3 separate regions of the Homo sapiens genome follow, and regions 1 and 2 are each linked to region 3. Evidence: promoter capture Hi-C in 16 types of primary human blood cells and fetal thymus (Javierre and others, 2016). All regions are on one chromosome and are shown on one strand. Each heading gives the region's core, a stretch centred on a gene start or on the middle of the fragment in contact. The rest is flanking DNA. Distances are from core to core; before and after follow the strand shown. Region 1 overlaps CHD1 (chromodomain helicase DNA binding protein 1). Region 2 overlaps RGMB (repulsive guidance molecule BMP co-receptor b). Region 3 holds the start of ELL2 (elongation factor for RNA polymerase II 2).

What was found. Contacts are between HindIII fragments. The CHiCAGO score rates a contact against its expected background, and 5 or more counts as called.
Region 1: a fragment that was not itself captured here is called in contact with the fragment with the promoter of ELL2 in region 3 in 1 of 17 cell types (total B cells); the score reaches 5.6 in total B cells.
Region 2: a fragment that was not itself captured here is called in contact with the fragment with the promoter of ELL2 in region 3 in 3 of 17 cell types (naive B cells, naive CD8 T cells and total B cells); the score reaches 6.2 in naive B cells.

Annotation. Positions count from the first base shown.
Region 1 is chr5:98,920,164-98,924,333 of GRCh38, reverse strand. The region is part of intron 2 of CHD1 (chromodomain helicase DNA binding protein 1); the gene reads left to right. Among named protein-coding and RNA genes, the nearest start is that of CHD1-DT, 6.3 kb to the left of the region's middle. The HindIII fragment of the contact is 855 bases long and covers 1,196-2,050 here.
Region 2 is chr5:98,779,893-98,784,106 of GRCh38, reverse strand. RGMB (repulsive guidance molecule BMP co-receptor b) reads right to left here. Exons shown (of 3, transcript NM_001366508.1): 2 at 4,019-4,214. Among named protein-coding and RNA genes, the nearest start is that of RGMB, 8.3 kb to the right of the region's middle. RefSeq lists an enhancer at 3,794-4,214. The HindIII fragment of the contact is 187 bases long and covers 2,752-2,938 here.
Region 3 is chr5:95,959,578-95,964,084 of GRCh38, reverse strand. ELL2 (elongation factor for RNA polymerase II 2) reads left to right here and starts at 2,234. Exons shown (of 12, transcript NM_012081.6): 1 at 2,234-2,510. The coding sequence starts at 2,364. LOC101929710 (a long non-coding RNA gene) reads right to left here and starts at 2,084. Exons shown (of 5, transcript NR_130776.1): 1 at 2,049-2,084. It also overlaps a transcript of CAST not described here. RefSeq lists silencers at 1,678-2,145, 2,101-2,340, 2,411-2,820 and an enhancer at 1,625-2,382. The HindIII fragment of the contact is 3,633 bases long and covers 988-4,507 here.

The DNA of each region.
Region 1 (4,170 bases), core at 374-2,873, 3.0 Mb before region 3:
GTATGTTGACTACTGACTATAGTTAAGTAAATAGAAGAGTCATATTGTCCACCCACAATTTTTTTTTTCTTTTCTTTTCTTTTGAGACAGGGCCTCACTCTGTCACCCAGGCTGGAGTACAGTTGTGTAGTCTCAGCTCACTGCAGCCTCTGCCTCCACCTCCTGGGCTCAAACGATTCTCCCACCTCAGCATCCTGAAAGGCGTGCATGCCACCACACTCAGCTAATTTTAAAATTTTTTGTAGAGATGAGGTCTCACCATATTGCCTCAGCTGGTCTTGAACTCATGGGCTCAAGCAGTCCTCCCACCTTGGCCTCCCAAAGTGTTGGGATTACAGGTGTGAGCTGCCACACCCGGCCTCACATTTTCTTATTCATAGTTGGAATGGAATGGTTAGTAGGTAGAAATACCTAGAGGAAACAAAGGAACCAAACTATTCATAAAATAGGAGATAAGACTCGAGAGTAAATCTTCTAGTTGGATATGCAGACAGATCATGTGCTGGTATATTCTGACTACTTACCTGTTCCAATATTTTATATATTTTTCTGCCATATCTAAAGCGAGGAGGAGTAATAAGTCCAATTTGATACTACAGGTGAAAAAAAATTAAACCTTGTGGCCGGGTGCGGTGGCTTACGCCTGTAATCCCAGCACTTTGGGAGGCCGAGCAGGCAGATCACCTGAGGTTGGGAGTTCGAGACCACCTTGACCAACATGGAGAAATCCTGTCTCTACCAAAAATACAAAATGAGCTGGGTGTGGTGGCCTGTAATCCCAGCTGCTCGCGAGGCTGAGGCAGGAGAATTGCTTGAACCCAGGAGGCAGACGGAGGTTGCAGTGAGCCGGAGATTGCGCGATTGCACTCCAGCCTGGGAAACAAGTGAAACTCCGTCTCAAAAAAAAAAAAAAAATTAAACCTTGCGAAATCAAATTTAAGGAATCTTTTACAATGCATACTCATCTTAAATAATTGCAAAGCATATTTCTTTAATTATTCGGAGTTGTTAATTCTGCTATACAGGTTTTGTGTGCTTCTGAAAAGTGTGGTTATCAAGTTATCTAGTTTTTACAACTGCCTTGGAGTTTATCAGGAGAGAGACCTTCTTTTTTGCCTTCATTTTCTTTCTTACCGCTGCTATACTATGCTCTACTGTCATTAACACTCAATTCCCACTCCCTTCCCCAGAAGCTTTTGTCATAAGACATTACAAAGAAGGGAGATTGTGCCTAGTTAAAAGACTGAGGAGGTGAACTTTAGAGGTAGAGGGATTTTCTTGCAAAAAAAACTAAAGTTTCTATAACTATGAATATTAATATAGAGTAATTTTTTTTCTTTTTTTTGAGCCAGAGTCTTGCTCTGTCGCCCAGGCTGCAGTGCAGCGGTATGACCTCGGCTCACTGCATCCTCCGCCTACCGAGTTCAAGCAATTTTCCTGCCTCAGCCTCCCGAGTAGCTGGGACTACAGGCATGCACCACTGCATCCAGCTAATTTTTGTATTTTTAGCAGAGACGGTGTTTCGTCATGTTGGCCAGGCTGGTCTCGAACTCCTGACCTCAGGTGATCTGCCCGCCTTGGCCTCCCAAAGCACTGGGGATTACAGGCATGAGCCACCGTGCCTGGCCCCTAATATAATTAGATTAGAAATATACTTTGTTTCTAAAGTTGATATTCATTGTAAGTAGCTTTTTAAAGTAAATTTTGGTTTTTTAGTGGCTAGAATTCTATAATGTATTTTTGCTTCAAAATTTCCTTTTTCTTTTGTGAAAGTTTATTAAACGGAATAGAATTAAGAAAGAATTCATTTGGCATTTGCAGGTTACAGTTAGCTTTCTACTGAAAAAAAAAATTTTTAACTATTCTTTCTGTCTGGAGATCTCTCTATAACTATTCACTGAAAGGAAGAAGAATACACAGGAAAAATATGTCTCTTTTGCTATGCTATTGCTGACAGTCTTGAAATTTAGTTACTAAGAAATGTGGGCCAGGATGCACCTGTATAACAGTTACAGCTCAACACAAAGTTTTATGTAACTGAAGTTAAGCTTTTTAAAGATAATGCTGGAAGATTTCAAAGCATCAATTTGCAGCTGTGTGGATTTGTGGTGGTATTTGCAAGCAAATTTTTCAAATCCTGGTAGACTTTTTTTTAGTGTGTGTGTGGTTTGTTTTTTTTTAATTGAGATGGAGTCTCACTGTTGCCCAGGCTGGAGTGCAGTAGCACGATCTTGGCTCACTGCAGCCTCCGTCTCCTGTGTTCTGGCAGTTTTCTGCCTCTGCCTCCTGAGTAGCTGGGATTATAGGTGCCCGCCACCATGCCCCGCTAATTTTTGTATTTTTAGTAAAGATGGGATTTCACCATGTTGGCCAGGCTGGTGGTCTTGAACTCCTGACCTTGTGATCCACCCACCTCGGCCTCCCAAAGTGCTGGGATTACAGGCATGAGCCACTGCGCCTGGCTGACTTTTTTTAGTTTTAAATAAGTTATCTTGAGTGATGATTTACTTCAGGAATGGCTATATGGTTAAAGATCAGAATGGTGTATGAGTTACCTTTCAAAGATTACTTTTCTGTATGTAGTCATAATGTGTGGGCAAACATTAATGTGATGTTACCCCTTTTACTCTGCTTAAGTAGCTGCTTGTTTAAGATCTTGATGACTGATTGGTTATATATGGTGCAGTTTTGTGTTTTAAAATGAGTATTACTTTATGATGAATGGAGAAAATGTTTAACCTTTTTTTAAAATGGGAAATATTTAAAACTACAGAAATAGAAAAGTTGCACCAGTTGTGGTCCGTGGACCAGCGGTGTTGGCATCATTTGGGAGCTTATTATAACTGTAGAACCTTGTGCCTCGCCCCAGACGTACTGAATCAGAATCTTCATTTTAACAAGATTCTAAGTGATTCTTATGTATTAAGTTCATATACATTTATATGAAGCTATTCATCTGGAGTCATAGCATCTTGCCACTTTGTTATTGATGTTGTTATACATGGTTTTCATTCTCTGCGAACCTCCAATTAATTGTGTCTTGAGCAGGACTAGCAAGAGGCTAGGTAAGTTTCGTTTCTCCGGAAGCAGTAACAATGGCAACTGATGATTGTTGAGCTCTTGCTGTGCCTTAACCTAGCATGATGCACATAGGGCATTGTGCATTACTTGAATTGTCACAGTTCATCCTCACAAAACTTCTGTGATGTATACATTGTTATGATTCCCACTTTCCAGATGGGGAAACAAGATTTATAGCCATTTTATTTATTTTTTTATTCTTTTTTAAAAAACTATTACCTAAACTCTATACTTGGATTTCATTGATTTTTCCATTAACTCCCTCTTTTCTGTTGTAGGATTAAATCCAGAGTGCCACATTGCATTTAGTTGTCACGTCTCCCCAGTCTCCTTTCATCTGTGAGAGTTTCTAAGTCTTTCCTTAGTTTTCATGGTCTAAACCATCTTGAGAAATACTGGCCAGGTATCCTGTAGAATGTTTTTGAAATCTAGATTTGTCTTTTTTTTTTTTTTTTTGAGACGGCGTCTTGCTCTGTTGCCCAGGCTGGAGTGCAATGGCACGATCTCACCTCACTGCAACCTCCGCCTCCTGGGTTCAAACGATTCTCCTGCCACAGCCTCCCGAGTGACTGGGACTACAGGTGTGCACCACCATGCCTGGCTAATTTTTGTATTTTTAGTAGAGACAGGGTTTCTCTGTGTTGGTCAGGCTGATCTTGAACTCTTGACCTCAGGTAATCCACCCACCTTGGCCTCCCAGAGTGTTGGGATTACAGGTGTGTGAGCCACCACACCTGGCCTTGTCTATTGTTCTTAGGATAAACTAGGGTTATTGGTTTTTAGAAAGAATACCACAAAGATAAAGTGTGCTAGTCACATCATATGGGAAACATGTTATCCTCATGACATTACTGGTGGTGTTAACCTCTCACTTGGTCAAGGTAGTATTTGCAAGTTTCTCTACTGTAAAGTTACTGTTTTTCCCTTTCCATAATATATTCTTTGGAAGCAAGTCATTTTGTCTAGCCTACTTTCAAGAGGGTTGGGATAGGAATTAAATTCCATCTCCTGGTGGGGGGAGTATTTACATATATTAAATGGAATTTCTGTAAGGAAATTTCTAAATCGTTTATATATGTATGGATTTAT
Region 2 (4,214 bases), core at 1,596-4,095, 2.8 Mb before region 3:
CCCAAATTCAAACGCCTTAAGGTAAACTACCTTCTCTCACTCAAGGGTGAGGCACAGTAAAATGTGTAGCAGAAGATCTGCAGTAGGACCTGTTGTCATCCCCAGTCTCCACTCCTACTTTTTATTTTGTGTTACTGAGGTGGAAGGATAGAATAAGAAAGCAAGAGTGGTGAAAAAGGATACAACCACATTAAAACAAAAGGAAAAATAAAATGAAGGCATTCAAACTACTTGTACAAAAATAATTACTAAAAACATTTCCATTGTTTGTTTAGGTATGCAACTTAATAATAAATGAATTTCAGAATTGTTTTTGAAAAAGGAATACTTTTGAATTCCCTGGAGACTGGCAATTTTAATATATGCTATTGGGAATACATTTGCAAAGTGCAGAATCTTTCATAAAAAAATTTATTCCCCAATCACCTTCTGTGATCATGGCATATACAGATTCTTATTGAACCCACTTAAACAGAGATATAAAGATCCACAGAATGAATGAACAAGAGTTGAGACTGAGAGGTTGGCAAAAATAACATGGAAGAAGTCAAGCATCCTCAAAACAGATCATCTGGTTTATCTTGAGTGTGTGAGGCACAGGACAACTACTGACATGTGCCCTCTCTGGAGCCTGTGAAGGGTGGGCTACTTCCTCCTGCAAAACAAAACCTGCCTTTCTTCTCAGTGTAGCTAACTCTGCCAGTTCAGAGCCTGTCCCTCTCATCTCATTCTGAGTGCCTACATGCCTGTAGCCGCCTCTCACAGCCAAAGGTGGGGAAGATGGCCCAGAGCTGATGTGGATGTCAGCCGAGGTATGTGTGTGTGCCAGACACCCCTGCAGCCCCCGGGGTGGAGAGATGAAAAACCAGCCCTGGCTTCCCCTTCAGAAACACATCTACCTGGCAAGGTAGCCAACTGGCACAGGTTCCTCCAAAGAGAGGGAGGCAGGCACAGGGCAAAACTAAAAACACAGAGGCCTTGAGAAAGCATACCTGTGCACACCATGACCAACAGGAAAACAAACCCTACCTTTCCCAAGGAAGGGGAGGAGAGGGCCATGGTGGGGAAGAAAACAGTAGACCAGGGGAGATGAGGCAACATCATTAAGCACCGCAGGCATGTCTGCCTTGAACTCACTGCTTGCCATGTAGAGAAAAAGAAAAGGCTTAGCTAATATATGGCCCCGGGTGACTTCATTTCATTCTATGGTGTTTAGATTTTTCCCCCACTTTGTCTTTTTGTGATAAGGAAAAGGGGGGTACCTAGGAACAGGCAGAGCTCACAAAGTTGGGCTTGAAGACGGCTTGCTCAAGAGGCCAGGTTCCCAGGACTGAGAAGCTGTCTTAGTAGCCTCATTGAGCAAAATACCCTGGGGTCTAGTGCTTCAGTGCAGTGTTAAAGGGAGCGAAATGAATGGATGTTTCCGAAAATTTCAGTATCACAGCTGGCCAGCTAGCCAATGACATCAGTCTTTCAATCTAGTGGCACTGAGCACGTGGGTTATTAAAAACACTTGACCACACAAGGATGATCTGGTATCTACAAGGCACAGTACTAGGTTACCCAACAACTGGTCTATGCACTTGCTTAAATTCTCAGTAAAGCTGGGATTTCCATGAAAAAATTTTTCAAAAGATTTTTTAAAGAAAGTATGGTGGTAGACATTAAGGGAAAATTTCAGATCTTGTTTAGAACTTATTTTATAAGCACTTTTATGCCTCTTATTGTTTTTATTTTTATCACCACCACTTTTTTGTGCTGAAGGTTTTTAAAGGTTTTATTTTGGTCCTGGCTGGGTAAAAGGAACGTATTGTAAGATTTAGGCCTTTCTTTGGTTTCACCAGCACACGTCATACTAGTATTGAGACAGGTCTTCAAGAGCAACCTTCCAGATGCTTATGGGGCTTTGGAGAGAGTTACAAAGAGAAGGGGGATGGGGAACCAAACCCAACAACTCCTAGAGGTTGTGAAGTGAGGCTACAGAATAGTTTGCTGCTGAACAGCATGGTCACCAGATGTGGGAAAATACCTTCCAATAGTGCAATTAAAGACCAAGCATTCTCATCATCTACTTGAATTTATGTCAGAGGACCACTTTCTCCAACTTTTTTTGAATGGGTAAAACCTTTGATCCTTATTCCAAACTGAGGGAGAAAACAAGATTGTCCTTTTTATTTATTTGCTAAAAATTACAACAGAATTCAACTGAAATAAAATGATCTTAAATACTTCAGTGTAAACTGTTCCATATATATAGCAATATTCATAAGGTTATCCCCCACATATTTTCACCATAATCAGTAACAATAGAATTCTGAAAGACTGAATAACAGAAGTGACATGACCGGATGGAAGGCATGAAGAATAAAATTTGAATACTGCTTCTTGTGAAGAGAATGAGTATTTCCCCATTTACAAGCTCTGATTAATCTCTATAGTTTTGTTCGAAGGTCACTCTGCCAAGTCCTCAATTATTTGCACAATTGATGACTTTTTCCATTCTCAATGGACTGCCTTCTTTCAGTTACCCAAAGACTATTCCCAGCTTTCATGTGCCATATGACTCTGCAGTAATGATGGATTTGGGGCCATCGTTTCTCTTATAACTTCATAATTCTATAACTTTATATATAATTTATAGCAAATACATATTCTGAGATATTTATAAAAAAATGATTTGAGTACATACAAAAACCAGAGGGAGAAAAGTTTATTTTGAGATATGGAATTTGGTAAGGCAAAAGACAAGCTTGAGCTTTTACTGAGAGTTGAAGTATAAACATTTTGGAGTTCCCCTAAGATGTCTAGACCAGTGTAACAGTCGTCTTTGATTAGGGCAATGACTTCTAGTCTTAAATTTGTGACACCCCAGGGTGTCTGCAGATATCTCCCGAGGTGTTGTAAAATTCCCTCCACAAAATGCCAAGTAAAATAAGCTTTAATTTATTTAAAAAGTATACCACACATGTTTAGACACAGGGGAGGGTGTCCTGGAATCAAGAGAACAGTCGTAAGTATTTCAAAAGCTTGAGTCTTGTCAATTACATTAAAAAACTAAACCAATTTTTTTGGATACAATAAATGCAAGAAATAAAGTAAGATGAGATGGTCTATGTGTGTGGTTTTGTGGTTGGAAAAGACACGGAAGGAGGTGGTTAGTCGGGACACTATTTTAGTGGAAAAGTGACTTTACTTACTAATGGCTGAATTAGCACTGACTGCCAATTAGAAACCTAGTTCATAGGTCCTCTCTACCTGCTTGCACTAAACACTGGTGCCTTGAAGTTGGTGTCAAAGATCTCTGTACAGTATTAGTTTCTTTAAAACAAACGAACACAGACCACATAAACTGGCAGCTAGTCATGGTAAGCTAAATTTTGTCAGTGTTTCTCTTAGCTTCTGACTGAAACTGTTAACCTGAGGCCCTGAGATTACACACAGGTTACATATTGCTGCTCTGCAATATCCAATTATTAACCTCCTCGGTCATCAAGAGGTTAGTAACTAAACCACCACTGTGGGTTTACCACTGGGAAGTTGGCTTATTGCCATTATGTTTTACTATAGCTTCCAAATCTCCAATAAAATATGTTTCCTGATACGTCACTGCCTCAGGCCTCACAGCTTTCTTTATTCAGAACACCCACTTCAATCATCTGATAAATCTGAACATGGATTTCTTCAAGAGTCACACACATATGCACTCAAAAAAAGACATCACTGAAAAAAGCATCCTTTTTTTACTAAACAGGTCTGCCTTTTCCCTGGAGAACTCAATTTCACTGTTTACTTTTTATTCTTTATATCACTGTCTATTTAAAATTAGAACCACGTTTACATTCCAATAAGAAATTCCTTACTAGATAATTTTTATTTAACCCTTTATCAACTGTTAATTGCTTTTCAAAAGAAGTTCCTTTTAAACTAGGCCCTTTATAGCACATTTCAAAAGTTATCTGAAGAATCAAACATCTTTTGAAAGTTGAGTAGGGAGAGGGAAAAAAGAAGGTATACTTGCCTTATTTGTAGCAGTAGCACTGGATCCAGGGACCACAGGTACGTTTGTCACTTGAACTGAAAGATAATTATTATCTATGAGTGGCCAGGCCCCTTCTACTTTGCATGTTTGGAAGTTATCCTTGAAAGTTCTGAGGTGAGGATCTCCAAACAAGCCACAAAAAAGGTAACTGGGAGGGTTCTGGTCCCCTCTCCTG
Region 3 (4,507 bases), core at 985-3,484:
ATATATTAATCCGTGAAAGATTTGTTACCCACTAAAATAGGGCATGAGAAAAATTTTCCTATTATAATTTTTAAAAAAAGTCAATTACTAGTAAGAAGCTACAGGTCAGATATTTGAAAACTACAACGAAAACCATCCTTACTCCTCCCCCACCCGCTTGGATGTCATCAGAAATTCTGAGTAAGAGTAGGCCAAGTTAGGATATCATGTGGGTGGGGATTTACCCACATTCACCGGAAAAGCAGTGGGATACAGGTTTTACTTGTTCCGGTCAAACCTCCCTTCCCCCTCACCTCCCAAATAATTAAGGCTTTAGCTATGTGCTCAGTCCTTTACTATCAAAAAAAAAAAAAAAAAAAGAGAGAGAGAAAAGAAAAGTTCAAGTACAGAATTATTTTTAGATTATAGTCCGCTTAGAGATGAACTATTTGAATAAGGTTTCTACTTTTGGAAAGCGGAGAAAACTAGGTAGTAAAGCCTCTATTTCCCTTCTAAGAGTAAACTTTTTAATCCAATTTGATGATTACCTTAATATCTCTACTACATGAATTTAAGATAACACTGTATCACTAAAGTAAATGAAATTAGCAAGCGTTAATCACGTCTTAACAGCTAGCCAATCTTAGTGGATTGAAATTAAGTCAATTTACAAACTGTTTTCCTGTGATGGAGTAACACTTAATACAGGTGTTTCCACTTAATCCAATTCATTCTGTAATTCACATTATACACCTACTATGTTTGAAGGTCTGAATCAAAAAGGAGTGTACCCGTACGGTGGGGAAGGCATTTATTGGGAGGGGAGGACATGGAATCATGGCCCTAATCCATTTAAAATAATGAAAAATACTGATTAAATATCTATAAACTTTCCCGGGGAATCCCAGTAGAACAGAACATGGTTTTATAAGCTGAGGGTAAAAACAAGCGTCTCAGTTTTTTTATTAAAAGAACTTTTTTAAACTGCCTTTCAACAGTTTGAAAGCTTTCAATGGTTTGTTTTATCTGGTGTTTCTGATCAACCAATTAATCCATCCTCTGACAGGAACCCATCTGTCAGTCTATCCACACACAATCTGAAAGGGACTCCAGATTAGGCTCCCTCTTTTAGCCACGCCTACACAGGAAGCATCCTGTGGATGGAATGGAAAGTATGCCAGGCCTTTGCACGCCCCTCACGCCCCCATCTCCTTCGCTTAACCTCGACAGCCTCTTACCTTTAAACCCTAGCTAGGTTTTCACACAGCCCTATCAAATAAAAAGGACAATACTCAAACTGAATTAGAGAATGAGAATTGTCGAGGTTTCTTTTAATTTAGATCAATGCCAGTTTTACTCTTCTTCTAGAGTCCTTTTTAAGGAGATATCATCCCCACCAGTTGTGATCCCAGAGAATCACAACAGGGCATGGCGTAGGAAAGACCTCGAAGCTCAATTCTCTATTATACCATGCCCACCATACGAAAGGCATTTAACCTCCCGCGTGATTTTGTCCTTAAGATGCTCCACAAGATCTAACACAACTCCTACATCTAAGAGTCGACTCACTAATTTCAAGGGTTTTTGTTTTTGTTTTTGTTTTTATAAGCTCTGCGTGTGGCACCCGATAACTTCAAGTTTAGAGTGAGCAGTTTCCTCCCAATGCCGTTTGCTCAACTACAGTACTAGGAGTTTTGAGGAGCAGCTCTCTAGCGAGTCCTCCTGCTGCGTCCTCCCCCACACGCACGCACCAAGTTCCACAGCTTCCGCAGCCGTCGGGGAACAAAGTCCTTATTTGGTCACGGCCATCCCCTTACATAGTGGAGGTGGAGATCCTCCTCTCCAAGGACCACCCGCGTAGGGCGAGATTCCCCAATTCTGACTTTTCACTACTATCCCCCACAGGGGCGGGGCTCCAACTCCAGGTAACCAGACCAGGCAACCTGGACTTCCAATTAGCAGGGGAGTCCCCAAGCCAGCCTGGCCAATCTCGGCCGGCTAGCCAAGACGACCAGACGTGACGTCAGACATGATTAAGTTGGCGCGTCACCTAGACGTCAGCCTCTTACCTCTCGGACGTCCCGTCCCAGGAGCAAAACTCTAGTGACTTTGGGCCCGCCCCCGTGAGAGTGGAGGGCGGCCGATGAGGGCGGTTCTGAAGGGAACAAGACCAATGAGACGAGCCCGGGGCGGGGCGCGGGGCCGGAGGGTGGGGCGGGTGGCGGCGGTGGCAGTCCGAGGTCTGGCTCCGCGCAGTATATGACAGTACGTCAGCAGCGGGATGGCCCTAGCAGTGGCGGCGGCTGCAGAAGCCCAAGCAGCCGCGGCCGCAGTGGAGGCTAGAGCCGGAGCGGCGGCGGCGGCGGCACCCCGGGGAGTTTAAGATGGCGGCGGGGGGGACAGGGGGCCTGCGGGAGGAGCAGCGCTATGGGCTGTCGTGCGGACGGCTGGGGCAGGACAACATCACCGTACTGCATGTGAAGCTCACCGAGACGGCGATCCGGGCGCTCGAGACTTACCAGAGCCACAAGGTGAGCGGGCCGGCCGGCAGGCTGGGCTCAGAGAGGCAGAGCGCACCCCTCACGGCCTGGCCGCGCCCGGGTGCGGGGCCGGCGGAGCCGTGGCTGGCAGCTGCTACCGTCAGCGCCCGCAGCGGCCAGGCAGGGCAGGGCCGGGCAGGGTGGCTGACGCCGCGGTCCCGGGCTAGCCTGGGCGTTGGGGAAGCGGGCAGTCGGGCGGCCCCTGGCGGCGGGGCCGAGGCAGCCGCAGCCCTGGGTCGGCTGCGCTGCCGCTGCGGGACTTTCCGACGGCCCCCGAGGATTTCCTGGCTTGTTGGGTCCCAAGGAGGGAGAGAGGCCCCGATAAGAGAAGTGAGATGACCACGCTACCCTCGGCGGGGAAGGAGGGTAGCGAGCAGCGTATGGGCAAGGAACCAGGGACGACTCGCGGGCACCAGCTGCCCGCGTTTTCCAGTTACATAGGCACGGTGGATCCTCAGAGACAGGACACAGGCGCTCCGCGTGTGGGGGTGGGACCTTGTATTCCCAGGGACTTGGGGACACAGGCGCTCCACGTATCAGGGGACACACTGTGTGCTCGAAGGGATGGGGACTCGGGCGCATGGTGAGGGGCACACGGTGTACTCATAGAGATAGGGACTTAGGCAGTCCGTGTAAGGGGGCGGCGCACACTGGAACGGCGGGGACACTGGCGCTTCGCGTACGGGGGGGGAGGGGACACACCTGCATTCCCAGGGACTCCGGGACACCGGCGCATCGCGTTACTGGAGACGCGCCGCGTCCAGGACGGACACAAACCAACACAGTGCCCTGGGGAGAGACCTGAGGACTCACGCACACTTAGCGCTCCCCGGGAGCAAGACATCGGGTTCTGGAGAGAGAGGTTCACGGACGCTCAACGTACCCGAAAAAGCTCCCGGCGTCTTGGGCTGACTCTGGGAAGTGTAAACGGGGAACGAGCCAGAGCCAGAAGGTGTGGGGAGGATACAATGCATCCCGGGCAGAGACTCGGGCCTCTCACCCCTCGTTTTCGAGAGAAGCCCATGGACACACACACACACATATACACACACACCCCTCCAGTACAGAGAGAGGCTCAGATAGGCGCACATACACTGTAATTGGACTACAAATCCAGACGCTTTCATGTTGGAAAAAAAATGGGAGAGACAGGGAAGCACCGAGAAGGGACGCGGTAACCAGGGTGCATGGGGAAACAGTTTATGGACATGCAGTACTGTGGGAGACCGGAGTGGATACATCGCGTGAGGGAGGGATATGCCATATGGGGGAACCTGTAACGTTTTACAGGAGAGGAGAGAGTCGGAAGGGAGATAGAACCCACGGGGCATCTTACAAATAGCCCGTTCGGTACTGAGGAACACACTCCAACCGGTCTCGTACAACAGACAGAGGGGCAGAAGGACACCGAGACACAGATTCACATAGTTATTCAGCTAAAAGTGGGGAAAAGAATTGACATCTGTTGAGCTCCCACTAGTGCCAGGCACTTTAAATACATAGAGCGAAGGCAGAGTCTGAGGCAGAGCGGCAGGAGAGGTGTGAACCCTGGTTTACTGGGAGTGTATTCAGAGAGCCCCCCCACCCCATAAGTGTGCACACAGAGGAAGGCATTAGTTGTGCACGCTTTGGATAGAAAATGAACTCACATGATAGGGTATTTGTAAACAGCAGTGGAGGCTCAGAGGTGAGTGTATTGTTAGGAAGGTACTCACAGAATTGGGTGGACACATGAATGTACGTGCTAGGACACTTGTGTTACTAACCAGAGAAGCATATGGTGAAAAGGACTCACAGACTTTGTGTGGTGGGGTGAGGGGGCGTCAGGGAGGAGTGCATGCACAGGGAGAAAGGTACCGTCCTACATACAGTGAAATCTCGAGAGAAAATCTCAAGAATGGCTGGGAGAGATACAAGAAATAGAAAACTGCATGTGCCAATAGCTACTCTTAGATAGGTGCACCTGCAGTGAAGAGACCAGCATCAGA